4 separate regions of the Homo sapiens genome follow, and all the other regions are linked to region 4. The links are contacts of gene promoters, found by promoter capture Hi-C in human tissues and cell types (Jung and others, 2019). All regions are on one chromosome and are shown on one strand. Each heading gives the region's core, a stretch centred on a gene start or on the middle of the fragment in contact. The rest is flanking DNA. Distances are from core to core; before and after follow the strand shown. Region 1 overlaps CYTH1 (cytohesin 1). Region 2 overlaps DNAH17 (dynein axonemal heavy chain 17). Region 3 overlaps DNAH17 (dynein axonemal heavy chain 17). Region 4 holds the start of DNAH17 (dynein axonemal heavy chain 17).

Region 1 (2,780 bases), core at 240-2,739, 120 kb after region 4:
AATTCCTCTATCAAGGAAGAATCAACTCGTACTGAGAGGTGGCCTCAGGAGCCTTTTCCGTTCTGGGCTTCTCACCTGGAGCTTATAACAGAAACAGCTGGCAAATACAGCCATGGCAAAACAAGCTCTGGCGGTGGTGGCTGGGAGGCTGGCAAGGGCCTCCCTTGGTTCTTTTTAGTATTTCTCAGCACAAAACACTGGGGTCATGGCTAGGCACAGGGGCTCACGTCTATAATCCCAGCACTCTGGGAGGTCAAGGTGGGTGGGTCGCTTGAGGTCAGGAGTTCAAGACCAGCCGGCCAACATGGTGAATCCCCATCTCTACTAAAAGTATAAAAATTAGCCAGGGGTGGTGGCACATGCCTATAGTTCCAGCTACTCAGGAGGCTGAAGCATGAGAGTCACTTGAACTGGGAGGTGGAGGTTGCAGTGAGCCAAGATTGCACCACTGCACTCCCGCCTGGGTGACACAGGGAGACTCCCTCTCAAAAAAAAAGAAAAAAAAAAGAAAAAAAAAAAAGTTGGGGTTGGGGCCGTGAAGTTATGCTGAGACAGACATGAAGGAAGGAAAAATTTCCCCAAGCCTATCTGAATGAAGCTACACCTGCTGTCAAATCGGGACCACAGGCTTTCTCTTCCTCCACCTCTCTCCCATCAAGGGAACATTTTCTGAACATGAACCACTCAAAACTTATCCCTAAGGCCTTGACCTGTGAAGCTATGCATGGCATTCTAGAAACACTTCTTGTGCCTGCTCTTTTGCTAAGACTTAACCTACAGACAATACCGCTTCTCCAATCTTCCTAAATAGCAAGGATCATGGGGCATAAATCTCATACCTCCGATCATGCTTTCTCTCTTGCCCTCATCACAAATAGCTGAGCAAAGAGGAGAATGGTTTTACAGGGATTATTCTAACTGCCAGGACCTGCCTGCATGCTCACACCAGAGAAACCTAAGGGGAGTATGCAAATAATGTTATGAAAAGAAAATGTCCAGCGTAGGTCCTGGCAGACAAGTAAAAGGACCACTGGACTTTCAGGCCAGTTTTTAGCACCCTGCTTGGATGCTGAACCCTAGGCGGGCTTACGTGACTGATCATTAATTGCCAAGATTCCAAATGACACAGATCTAGGTTATGCGAGGGAATTTGCTGTAAGCAAGCACGTGCCCTCCACCTGCCCATCCTGTGCTATATCAAGCAAATTGAGACTCTCCCTCCAGTAACTTCTAAGTTTCATGTGAGCCCTTGCCACTGGTCCCTAAAGGTTAGATGGCATGAATTAAGAGAAAACCATAAATGGATACTATGACATGCATGTGGAAAACAGGAAAGCCCGGGCAGAATTAAATAAGGAGGATAAAGAAGGCAAGGACTATATTCAGGATTGAAGCCAATTTGTTCTTAAAAAGGAACCCCCTCCACCAATTCAGAGTCTGAGAACTTTGGTCTTCCAGCCTGGCGGGCCATTGGTTGCCCACGGAGGCTCGGCACAAAGGGAACATCAACCCATGCTGACCTCCCATGCGCTCCATCACAGGACACTACCCGGGGAACCCTTCGGACATAGGAGATCATGGAAAAAGCGAGTCAGATGCTAAAAGAAACAAGATGGAAAGAAATCAAGGAGAAAAAGCAAAGCCAGAAGAAATTCTCTGCCTGATTACAAAAGCTTGGTTATTATGCCTGGACAATTTGTTGCATTACAGAGACCTCTACCATAAAGCATCACTGTGGGCCCACGGGGAACATTTCCACGTGGAAAGAAAAGCAGACATGAAACAAGCAGACAGATCAATGTGCGCCTAGGACAGTCCCTGTGGAACTCACAGGACCACCTCCCACTGCACGGCTCCTCAGGCCTCCTGTGACCTCCCCGAGACATCAAGGCCGGATGCCATCTTCCCCTACAGTTGAGAACAACCTGACAAGTCCCTGAAGCATCTCAGTAACTGTGCGTGTTTGGGGTTGTTCTTTTTAAGTGTAGCTACTGCTCAGGGAATGCTTAGGCACAAACCTGAGGGGTCTTGGGCTAAGAAAATATGTTTCCCCAAAAAAACCAGCAAATGGAGAGGAGACACCAAAACCATAACCAGGAGACCGATTCGGGGCTTTAACGAGGACTCGCTGAAAAAGCGAGGGAGCAAAACAAAACATAACAACAGAGCCGAGGCTGTTAATACCCTTCTCTGATCCCCAGGAAACTAAACACGAGGACTTCAGGGAGGGTTTTTTGGTTTGGACTTGTTTTTTTCACCTTCACTCGGTATCATTTTGAGTTTAGGAAATACCATTTCCCCTTTTCGTGCAAAGGCAAATGTCTTAAGTATCATCTAATTTAGTTCTTTCCCTAGTTTGCTTTTCCATCATGGTAAATCAGAAGCTTTCCATAGCTTTGGGAAGTCAAGACTTTGTTCTCTCTGGAGTAAGTCTCAGCTTGAAAAAAGAAGAAAAAAGAAAGACTTCCTTCTCTTCTTTCTCCTCTTCCCCACGTCAGAGATTAACTTTCAATCAGGCTGATTAATGGACGTCAAATTGAATATCAAACATAGCGCATGTCTTAGCCAATAATTCCAAGTGAAAATGTCATGGAAACTTCCTCTGCTTTTACAAACCCACTCTTAGTATGTTTTCTTGCATTACTGCATTCAGTAATGAATATAACATATACTCCTCCAAAAAAGAAAAACGAAAATTGCTCCAAACCCCTGATCCTGACCAGTTCCCTAGGGACTGTACAATAAGTTAGAAGCAGCATTAACACTACCACCGGCAATTA
Region 2 (2,800 bases), core at 301-2,800, 89 kb before region 4:
ATCTTCTTGAACCCAAAGCGCAACTTGTCCAGGCACGTGGGCAGGTACTTGTCAAAGAGGATCATCAGGTTGGCCTTCTCCGACTGCACCTTGCGCCTCTCGATCCAGCTGCTCACCACCCTGGGGGTGACAGGAGGCGCCGATGACACAGCCGCTGCTCTGGGTCTGCCAGTGTCCCTGCCTTGGTAAACGCCCCTCCCTACCTCCACCCAATTCTGCTGGGGCTGCCCTCAGGGTCACCATGCCTGCATGGCAATGGGTCCAAACGAGGGTGCCAGAGGGGCCAGTTGCAGGCCCTGAAAGGGTCGGAGGAGGATGCCAGGGTCGTGGGGGCTGTGCCCTCTCTGGGGTTGCTAGCTATGGGGGTGCTGTAGGTCTAGAACAGTTGGAAGCCATTCTTGCTACCACACGGGAAGCACATACCAAGGGCTGGTGGATGGGGCAGAACAGAAAAGGAGAAAGATCTCATGATGTCATGTGGGGGGCACGAAGGTGGGGACAGTAAGGGAGCAGAAAGGAGAGACAAGGATAGGAGCAGGGACATTTCATTACATCATCTGGACTCCTGAATCCAGCCATGCCTGAAGCACCCCTTGGTGCTTTTTTTTTTTTTTTTTTTTTAAGCTTCAGTTAGTTTGAGTTGAATTTGCCATGTTCAGTGTAAGAGTACAAATCAATACAACCAGCAATCCTTGAAGAGCCGTGCCAGACTGTTGGCCACAGACATCTCTGGGTGGCTCGTGTGGAGGTGGCCCACCACGGCGGTGAGGGGTGTGGACTCTGGGGCCTGACTGCCCAGGCTTGAGTCAGCTCTACCATGGCCAGCTGCTGCTTTAGGCAGGTTACTGCACATGCCTGAGTCCCTGGTTTCTCATCTGTAAACAGGGGTGATGTTTCCATGACCCTCATTTCCAAGGACTACATGGGCTGATATTTTTAAAGCTCAGAGAAGGGGGCCTGGTCCAGGGTAAGTGTTGCCAAATCAGCATCTGCTGAAAGCATCACTAGTGCCTGGCCCCCTCGAGTGCCAGTGAGCTCAGCACGTGCATCATTTCCAGGATGCCCAGGGCCTAAGCAGGAAGCTCCTGTTAACACACACAGCCAGCCTGCCCTGCGCTGACCGGCAGACGTGCCTCTTTAGACAGAGACTCATTTTTTTTCTTCTTCTGAGATGGAGTCTTGCTCTGTAGTGCAGGGGTGCGATCTCGGCTCACTGCAACTTCTGCCTCCTGGGTTCAAGCAATTCTCCTGTTTCGGCCTTCCAAGTAGCTGGGATCACAGGCGTGCACCATCACACCTGGCTAATTTTCATATTTTTAGTAGAGACAGGGTTTCGCCACGTTGGCCAGGCTGGTCTTGAACTCCTGACCTTAGATGATCTGCCCGCCTCAGCTTCCCAAAGTGCTGCGATTACAGACATGAGGCACTGTGCTTGGCCAGACACACACTCTTCTGTGAGTGTGCTCTGGGGGAGCTCCGCTTCTTCCTGAACCTCTATCACAAGAGAGAATTAAGAGCTGAACGTCTTTGCCGCATAGCACCCTGTATTATCCAGCGTAATAGAGTAAACCTTTCTATGTCCCTAAGCGAATCAGGGTGTCTCCATGCCTGTCGCAACTAAGAACTGAATTCCAAGTCCAGTTGGTCTTCAGTAGGGGAGATTGATTTGCAAATCTACGCAGAGGCTGCTGCTTTCTGCCTTCTACTTTGAAGATGTTTGTGTCAAAAATTTGTGATGCTGCCTTGGTAGGAGTCACTGAGTGCGGGTCGGTGTGTGTGCTGTCTCTGATATGCGTAGCACAGGCCCCAGGAGAGACACATGCTTGCGAGACAGGCCGACTTTCTCACCTCTGGTCCATACGGCTTCTTGCCCTGTCCCCAAGGCCATCCTGGGTGCATCCGGCATCCCTGCCCCTGGCAGTTGCCTATAGGAGGGCTGCTCCTGCTGTCTGGGGACCCTGTGTCTGCTTCTCGCCCATTTCCATTCTCTCCTCTGCCAATACTCAGGTCTCCTCCTCCTGCTTCCTCCAGGTCACTCCTTGGAGGTGTCCAGTTCCTGCCTTGGCCCACGCTGCCTTCGTTTCTGGCTCCCTCTTCTCTGCTCCCATAGGGTGTCCCCCTGAGGACTCCACGATCCTGTCTTTTTCCTGTCCCCGTGTCTCAGCAGCTCCTACCCAGGCTTCATTTCAGTTCCCCGGACATTGTCTTTGCCTACCCTGAAAACTCCCACACATGGTACAGTGGGTAGGATGGTGGTGCTACAAAAGAATGTCCACCCAGAACCCAGAATGTGCCCTGATTTGGAGAAAGGGCATTAGCAGATGTCATCAAGGATCTTGAGACAAGATCATCCTGGATTTAGGGTGGACCCTGAATCCAATGACTGTGTCCTTATAAGCAAATGGGAAATTTGGACACAGACATACAGAGAAGGCCACGTGGAGACAGAGGCGGAGATGGGAGGGGTGTGTCCATAAGCCAAGGGATGCCAAGGACCGCCGAGAGCCCCCAGGAGCTGGGAGAGAGGCCTGGGACAGGTTCTCCCGCAGAGCCTCAGAGGGAACCAGCACTGCCTACTCCTTGACTTCTGGCCTCCAGCACTGGGAGAGGATAAATGTCTGTTGTTTGAAGCTGCCCCATTAGTGGTCATTGTTTCAGCAGCTGGAGAATGCTGTATAAGCAGGCAAGTGTTGCTGGAGAAGCCGGCACAGAGGCACCCAGGCTCAGCAGCTCCTGGCCCTGTCCCCATAGGGAACATTCCACTTGGTATCCCTCTCAAACCCTGGCCACACTGTGCTGC
Region 3 (2,700 bases), core at 15-2,514, 72 kb before region 4:
TGTTAAAATGGTTTCTATTGCTTGATCAATAGTTGGGTAATGAGACAGGGGAGGGGGCAGCCCGGAAGTTTTCTGACGGCAGAAGGAGCCCGCCCTGAGCCGGGGGACGCGCTTGCTGGGGAAGGAAGAGGCTGTGGAGACCACTCTGAGTGGTGGGCTGTGCAGCCGATTATTTCAGACAGGTGATGGGAATTGGCAGTTCAGAGATGTGCAACCCCTTTTAAAGCAGTCCCTTTGGCAAAAGCCATGGAAAGGATTCAATGATATTAACAGGGCTTTTTTTTTTTTTTTTTTTTTTTTTTTTTGAGACGGAGTCTCACTCTGTCACCCAGGCTGGAGTGCAGTGGCGCGATCTTGGCTCACGGCAACCTCTGCCTCCCGGGTTCAAGCGATTCTCCTGCCTCAGCCTCCCGAACAGGGCTTTTCTCCCGTCCTTTCCCCTCCCCTTTCTCCCTAAGGATACACTGGTGCTATATGGGTAAGGCTGGGCTGGAAATTCTATAAAGAGGCCCATCCCTTAAGTGTTTTCTAGAGAGGGAGAGGAGAGGAGCAGGGGCGGGCTGGCAGCTGCACAGGGTGCTGGTTCTCCGGACATCGCCATCTGAGGGCGTGTGGCCCACACGCGTGCTGCACCCTTGTCCTGGGTTCCCTGTGTGGTGTGCGCACACACTCACCTGCCCCGAGAGGTCGCATTCCTGATCAAAAACCATGTACTCGTCCTCCTTGCTGTACATTCCCAGGCCCACCTTGAGAGGTTTGTCACTGGCATCGAGCCGGAACTTCAGTTTACACAGGCTATCGAAGAGTTTGGACAGGTGGCGGCTCACCTGGGAGGAGGCAAGAAGCGGGAATTATGCAACGGGGGATTTGAAAGGCATGTGCGTGGCTTGGGCTTTCCGTGGGTGGTTTTAGGCATCGTTCTTTTTGGAATATACTCCCCATCTTTGATCAACGTTGACTAAACATGACTAAGTCAACAAAAGGAACCAGCGAAGACTGCTCTGAGTCAGGACACAGAAACCAGGCCAGGAACCGCAGCCCTTCTAAGCCAAACATCCATTCTGGAAGATTTCTTTTTGGTGGGGCATGGTGGCTCACACCTGTAATCCCAGCACTTTGGGAGGCCGAGGCAGGTGGATCACCCGAGGTCAGGAGTTCGAGACCAGCCTGACCAATGTGGAGAAACCCCATCTCTACTAAAAATACAAACTTAGCCAGACGTGGTGGTGCATGCCTGTAATCCCAGCTACTTGGGAGGCTGAGGCAGGAGAATCACCTGAACCCAGGAGGCAGAGGTTGTGGTGAGCCGAGATCGCGCCATTGCACTCCAGCCTGGGCAACAAGAGCGAAACTCCATCTCAAAATAAAAAAAATTAATAAATAAGATTTCTTCTTTTTGAGAAGGTTCTGTCCCAGATCCCAAGCCACACACTCAGTCTATTCTTGCATATCCCTTCTTCTTGTGTAACCTCTAACCTTACGGTCAAAATAAAATGCAAGCGCTTTCCCTTCACCTAGTTAATTTTTTTTTTTTTTTTTTGAGACAGAGTCTCACTCTGTCGCCCAGGCTGGAGTGCAGTGGTGCGATCTTGGCTCACGGCAACCCTCTGCCTCTCGGGTTCAAGCAATTATCATGCCACAGCCTCCTGAGTAGCTGGGATTACAGGTGTGAGCCACTGTGCCTGACCTCTTTTCTCTTTTAGAATAGCCCCAAGGAGGCACCTGTTCCTTGCTCTTGGGACCCTGAGATTTAACCAGCTGACCAGAGCAAGACCCACTGAGAGGTGTGTCTTTCAGAAACAGTGTCTTACTAAGCCTCTGGCATACGACCCATTTTCTAGAAGGGGAAAATGAGGCACAGAGAGGCAAATTAACTTCTCAAAAGCCAGGCCAAGTGCAGAGCAGGATGTGAGGCGAGTCCTGCCACGTTTCTGCCATGGCTGGGGACCCCAGGGCAGCTTCTGGTGCAGAGGGCCTCCTGGAGATGATGGGGCACGTCCAAGGACACTTACCCCACCCTAGGGCGGTTGAGGTAGAGGTGCCCACCTGGGGTCTGGCATGATGTTGGCTTAAACACCGGAATGCAAGGGGCCCCGCCTACCTCCACGGGGTCATTGCCATTGGAGAGAATGTCCAGGAGGTCAGCCGAGGAGACAAAATAGAACCGGGGGAAAGCCAGTCTTTTCGTCTCTAAATACTCTGCCAAAGCCTTTTCACAGATGGCCAAGCTGGGAGGAAGGAAGGAAGTAGAGGAGGCCGGTGACCCTACTCTGTAGGGATGTCTGCCACCCACCCTGTCGGCGAAGGAAACTGATCATCCTGGAGATGCCTGGACTGCTGTTCACAGGCCTGGTTTAATTCAGAATCTCCTACCGGAGGCTCTCGTTTCTTTGCCATCCCCTGACCTTGTGGGCACTCCTAGGCAAGAGGGAGCATCATTTATTCTCCGGGTCATTGCTTCCTTCAAGGCCAAGGCATCACGTGGTGGGATGAGGCCGGGGAGTGTGTGCTCCCCAGGGAAAGGCAATTGATTAACCCAGGACCCATGGTTTTGCCCTGTCCTGGCCAGCAGGCTGCACAAGACTTAAGTTCCGTCAGACTTAAGACTTAGGGAATCTGCACCACTGACTCCCCTGGTCTGGATAGGTGTGAGCCGCACCTCTTCTTCAGGGCCTCCAGTTTATTGTAGAGGCCGGGTTT
Region 4 (2,700 bases), core at 191-2,690:
TCTGCAAGGGCAGGGTTGAATGCAAAGGGTCGCCTGATGCTGTGTTTTCATCACAATCTGGGAGGTATGCAGCTCCTGAATTTCAAGGGGAACCCTGGGGTATTCAGCTGCTCTGGGGGTCCGTGGGCTGGGGCTGGCCTGCTCCAGACCTGGCAGCTGCTGAAAAGCATCAGGGTGGACAGATGACGTTGGAAGCACTCACAAATTCTGCCTTTTGGTTTGACCCAAGCTATTGCTTTTAAGTTTGTAACAGCCTACAGTTCCCCAAAAGACACGTAATACCACGGAACAGGTTTATTTCACCCTGGCCACTATATATCGGCAAAACAACTATATGATGGGAAGCAGTAGTGGATAGCATTTGGATGCTATTCAAATGGTCTGAGATTTATTCAAGGCTCCAAACATCTCTGAGAGAGGACTTGGGGAATATTTGGCCAGCAAATGGCAGAAACATGGCGGTCCACGAGCAAAGCCACCCGATTCAGGCACATCTGTGAAAGAAAAAGGGGACACCACCAGGCAAGTAGGAGGAGCACCGCGTGGCATTTATGGAGATGACTCGTTCACCAGGTTCCCACAGGGCTTTCAGCATGCTGCTGAATTAATCTCCACCCAGGATCTCCGAGACCCGGGGACGCGTCACGTCGTCATTTCCTAGGGGGATCAGGAACTCAGGGGAGCCCGAGTCCTGGAAGGTTCCTGATTGGAAGTCTCGCCAAGCTGGTCAGGCGACTGGACTGGAGGGAAACATCCTCTGGTTTACTGATTTTGTGGATTTGGGCTTTCACAAAGTCATCTTTTCTTCCAAGAACGGCATGGGGTGGGCTGCCTCCCAAGCCATAACATGTGTGGGCTGAGGGGCCCCTACACCCCGCAAGTTTCTTGCACGATCGGGAGGTCTCATCTCAGGCTCCCACCCAGCCGTTTCCTGGGCTGAAGGCCAGGAGGTCCCAGTTAACAATAGGGTTGTCCCAGGCCATGCTTCCGGAGGGGCAGAGACGGCTTCTCTGGGAGGTGGCCCATGCCCCAGGCCTTCAGGACTCCACAGGAGGAAGCTGGGGCTAGGGGCTTCCAGGAGAAGCCAGGGGGCTGAGGCAAGGCCTTCCCAGGAGCAGGGAAGAGTCTGGAGCCCTGGAAGGGGTCAGGCTGGTACGTGGCAGCCAGCCTCGGGGTCCCAGAGCCATGAACAGCTCCCGGTGGCGAGCAGAGCCACTTCTGGGGTAAGTGGAGGGTCTGCTGTCTGCCAGGGCCTAGGTCCCACCTCCATCCTCTGAAGGCCTCCCTGCTCCCTCCACCTTGGCCTCCGACTCCCCCAGCATGGTTGAAGGCCGCTCACCAGCTGAAGGCAAACAGCTTCTCCCGCAAACTGATGAGCAACTCTTTCCCAAACCAGGAAAGAAAATGGCTCCCTTCCCTCGAGGGGCTCCAACTGCCACATAACTTCTGGGAGTCTCCTCACGGTACCTGGGGCTTCTAGAACCTTCCCCTTGGGACCCAAGTAACCAATGATAGCGCAGCAAATGAGGAACCAACCGTCACCCCACAGTGGAAAGGCTCTTAGATGATCATTTTGAGGGGAGGTTGGAGGGGGGACAGGGTCGCGCTCTGTTACCCAGGCTGGAGTGCAGTGGTACAATCATAACTCACTGCAGCCTCAAACTCCTGGGCTTACGTGATCCCCCCCCCTCAGCCTCCTGAGAAGTTAGGACAACAGACGCACATCACCACACCTGGCTAATTTTTGTACTTTTTGTAGAGATGAGGTCTCACTCTGTTGCCCAGGCTGGTCTCAAACTCCTGGCCTCAAGCAATCCTCCCAAAGTGGAAAGGAAGACATTATCTCTGTTTACAATAAGGTGATCTTGTATGTAGAAAATCCCAAGAAATCCATAAAATTGTAGAGCTAATAGAGGAATTCAGCAAGTTTGCAGTATACAAGATATTTGAAAATTAATTATATTTCTCTGTAATTATATTATGAACAATCTGATGATGAAATTTAGAAAACAATTGTCCCCATAATGAACAATCTGATCATGAAATTTAGAAAACAACTCCCATTTACAACAGCATCAAAATAATTTCGTTTACAATAGCGTCAAAAACAACAAAATACTTAGGAATAAACTTTAAAAAGAAGTGTTAAGACTTGTACACTGAAAACTGCAAAACATCATGGAAATAAAGACAACCTAAATCAATGGAAGGACATGCTGTGTTCATGGGTTAGAAGATTGTTAAGACGGGCCAGGCGTGATGGCTCACGCCTGTAATCCCAGCACTTTGGGAGGCCAAGGCGGGTGGATCACGAGGTCAGGAGATCGAGACCATCCTGGCTAACACGGTGAAACCCCATCTCTACTAAAAATACAAAAAAATTAGCCGGGCGTGGTGGTGGGTGCCTGTAGTTCCAGCTACTCAGGAGGCTGAGGCAGGAGAATGGCATGTACCTGGGAGGCGGAGCTTGCAGTGAGCCGAGATCCCGCCATTGCCCTCCAGCCTGGGAGACAGAGTGAGACTCCGTCTCAAAAAAAAAAAAAAAAGAAGATTGTTAAGATGACGACAGTTCTCCTCAAGTTGATCTGCAGATTCAACACAATCCTTATCAAACTCTCAGCTGCCTTTTTTGTAGAAATGACCCTAGATTTTATAGGGAAGTATGAGGGAACAAAAACCATCCAAACAACTTTGAAAAAG

What was found. The method cuts DNA at HindIII sites, captures the fragments that hold promoters and counts their contacts. A contact is called where the count stands out against the background at its distance.
Region 1: a fragment that was not itself captured here is called in contact with the fragment with the promoter of DNAH17 in region 4 in 3 of the 25 tissues and cell types used here (mesendoderm cells, pancreas and thymus).
Region 2: a contact is called between a fragment that was not itself captured here and the fragment with the promoter of DNAH17 in region 4, in 5 of the 25 tissues and cell types used here (H1 embryonic stem cells, lymphoblastoid cells, mesendoderm cells and 2 more).
Region 3: a fragment that was not itself captured here is called in contact with the fragment with the promoter of DNAH17 in region 4 in 2 of the 25 tissues and cell types used here (IMR-90 fibroblasts and pancreas).

What each region holds. Positions count from the first base shown.
Region 1 is chr17:78,693,134-78,695,913 of GRCh38, forward strand. The region is part of intron 10 of CYTH1 (cytohesin 1); the gene reads right to left. Among named protein-coding and RNA genes, the nearest start is that of SCAT1, 62 kb to the left of the region's middle. The HindIII fragment of the contact is 4,880 bases long and covers 1-2,780 here.
Region 2 is chr17:78,486,387-78,489,186 of GRCh38, forward strand. DNAH17 (dynein axonemal heavy chain 17) reads right to left here. Exons shown (of 81, transcript NM_173628.4): 45 at 1-120. The region is part of intron 1 of DNAH17-AS1 (DNAH17 antisense RNA 1); the gene reads left to right. Among named protein-coding and RNA genes, the nearest start is that of DNAH17-AS1, 2.9 kb to the left of the region's middle. The HindIII fragment of the contact is 5,977 bases long and covers 1-2,800 here.
Region 3 is chr17:78,504,619-78,507,318 of GRCh38, forward strand. DNAH17 (dynein axonemal heavy chain 17) reads right to left here. Exons shown (of 81, transcript NM_173628.4): 29 at 2,660-2,700; 30 at 2,102-2,228; 31 at 675-827. Among named protein-coding and RNA genes, the nearest start is that of DNAH17-AS1, 21 kb to the left of the region's middle. RefSeq lists enhancers at 2,168-2,700, 2,483-2,700. The HindIII fragment of the contact is 9,772 bases long and covers 1-2,700 here.
Region 4 is chr17:78,575,956-78,578,655 of GRCh38, forward strand. It overlaps DNAH17 (dynein axonemal heavy chain 17), which reads right to left and starts at 1,441. Exons shown (of 81, transcript NM_173628.4): 1 at 1,340-1,441. The HindIII fragment of the contact is 13,821 bases long and covers 1-2,700 here.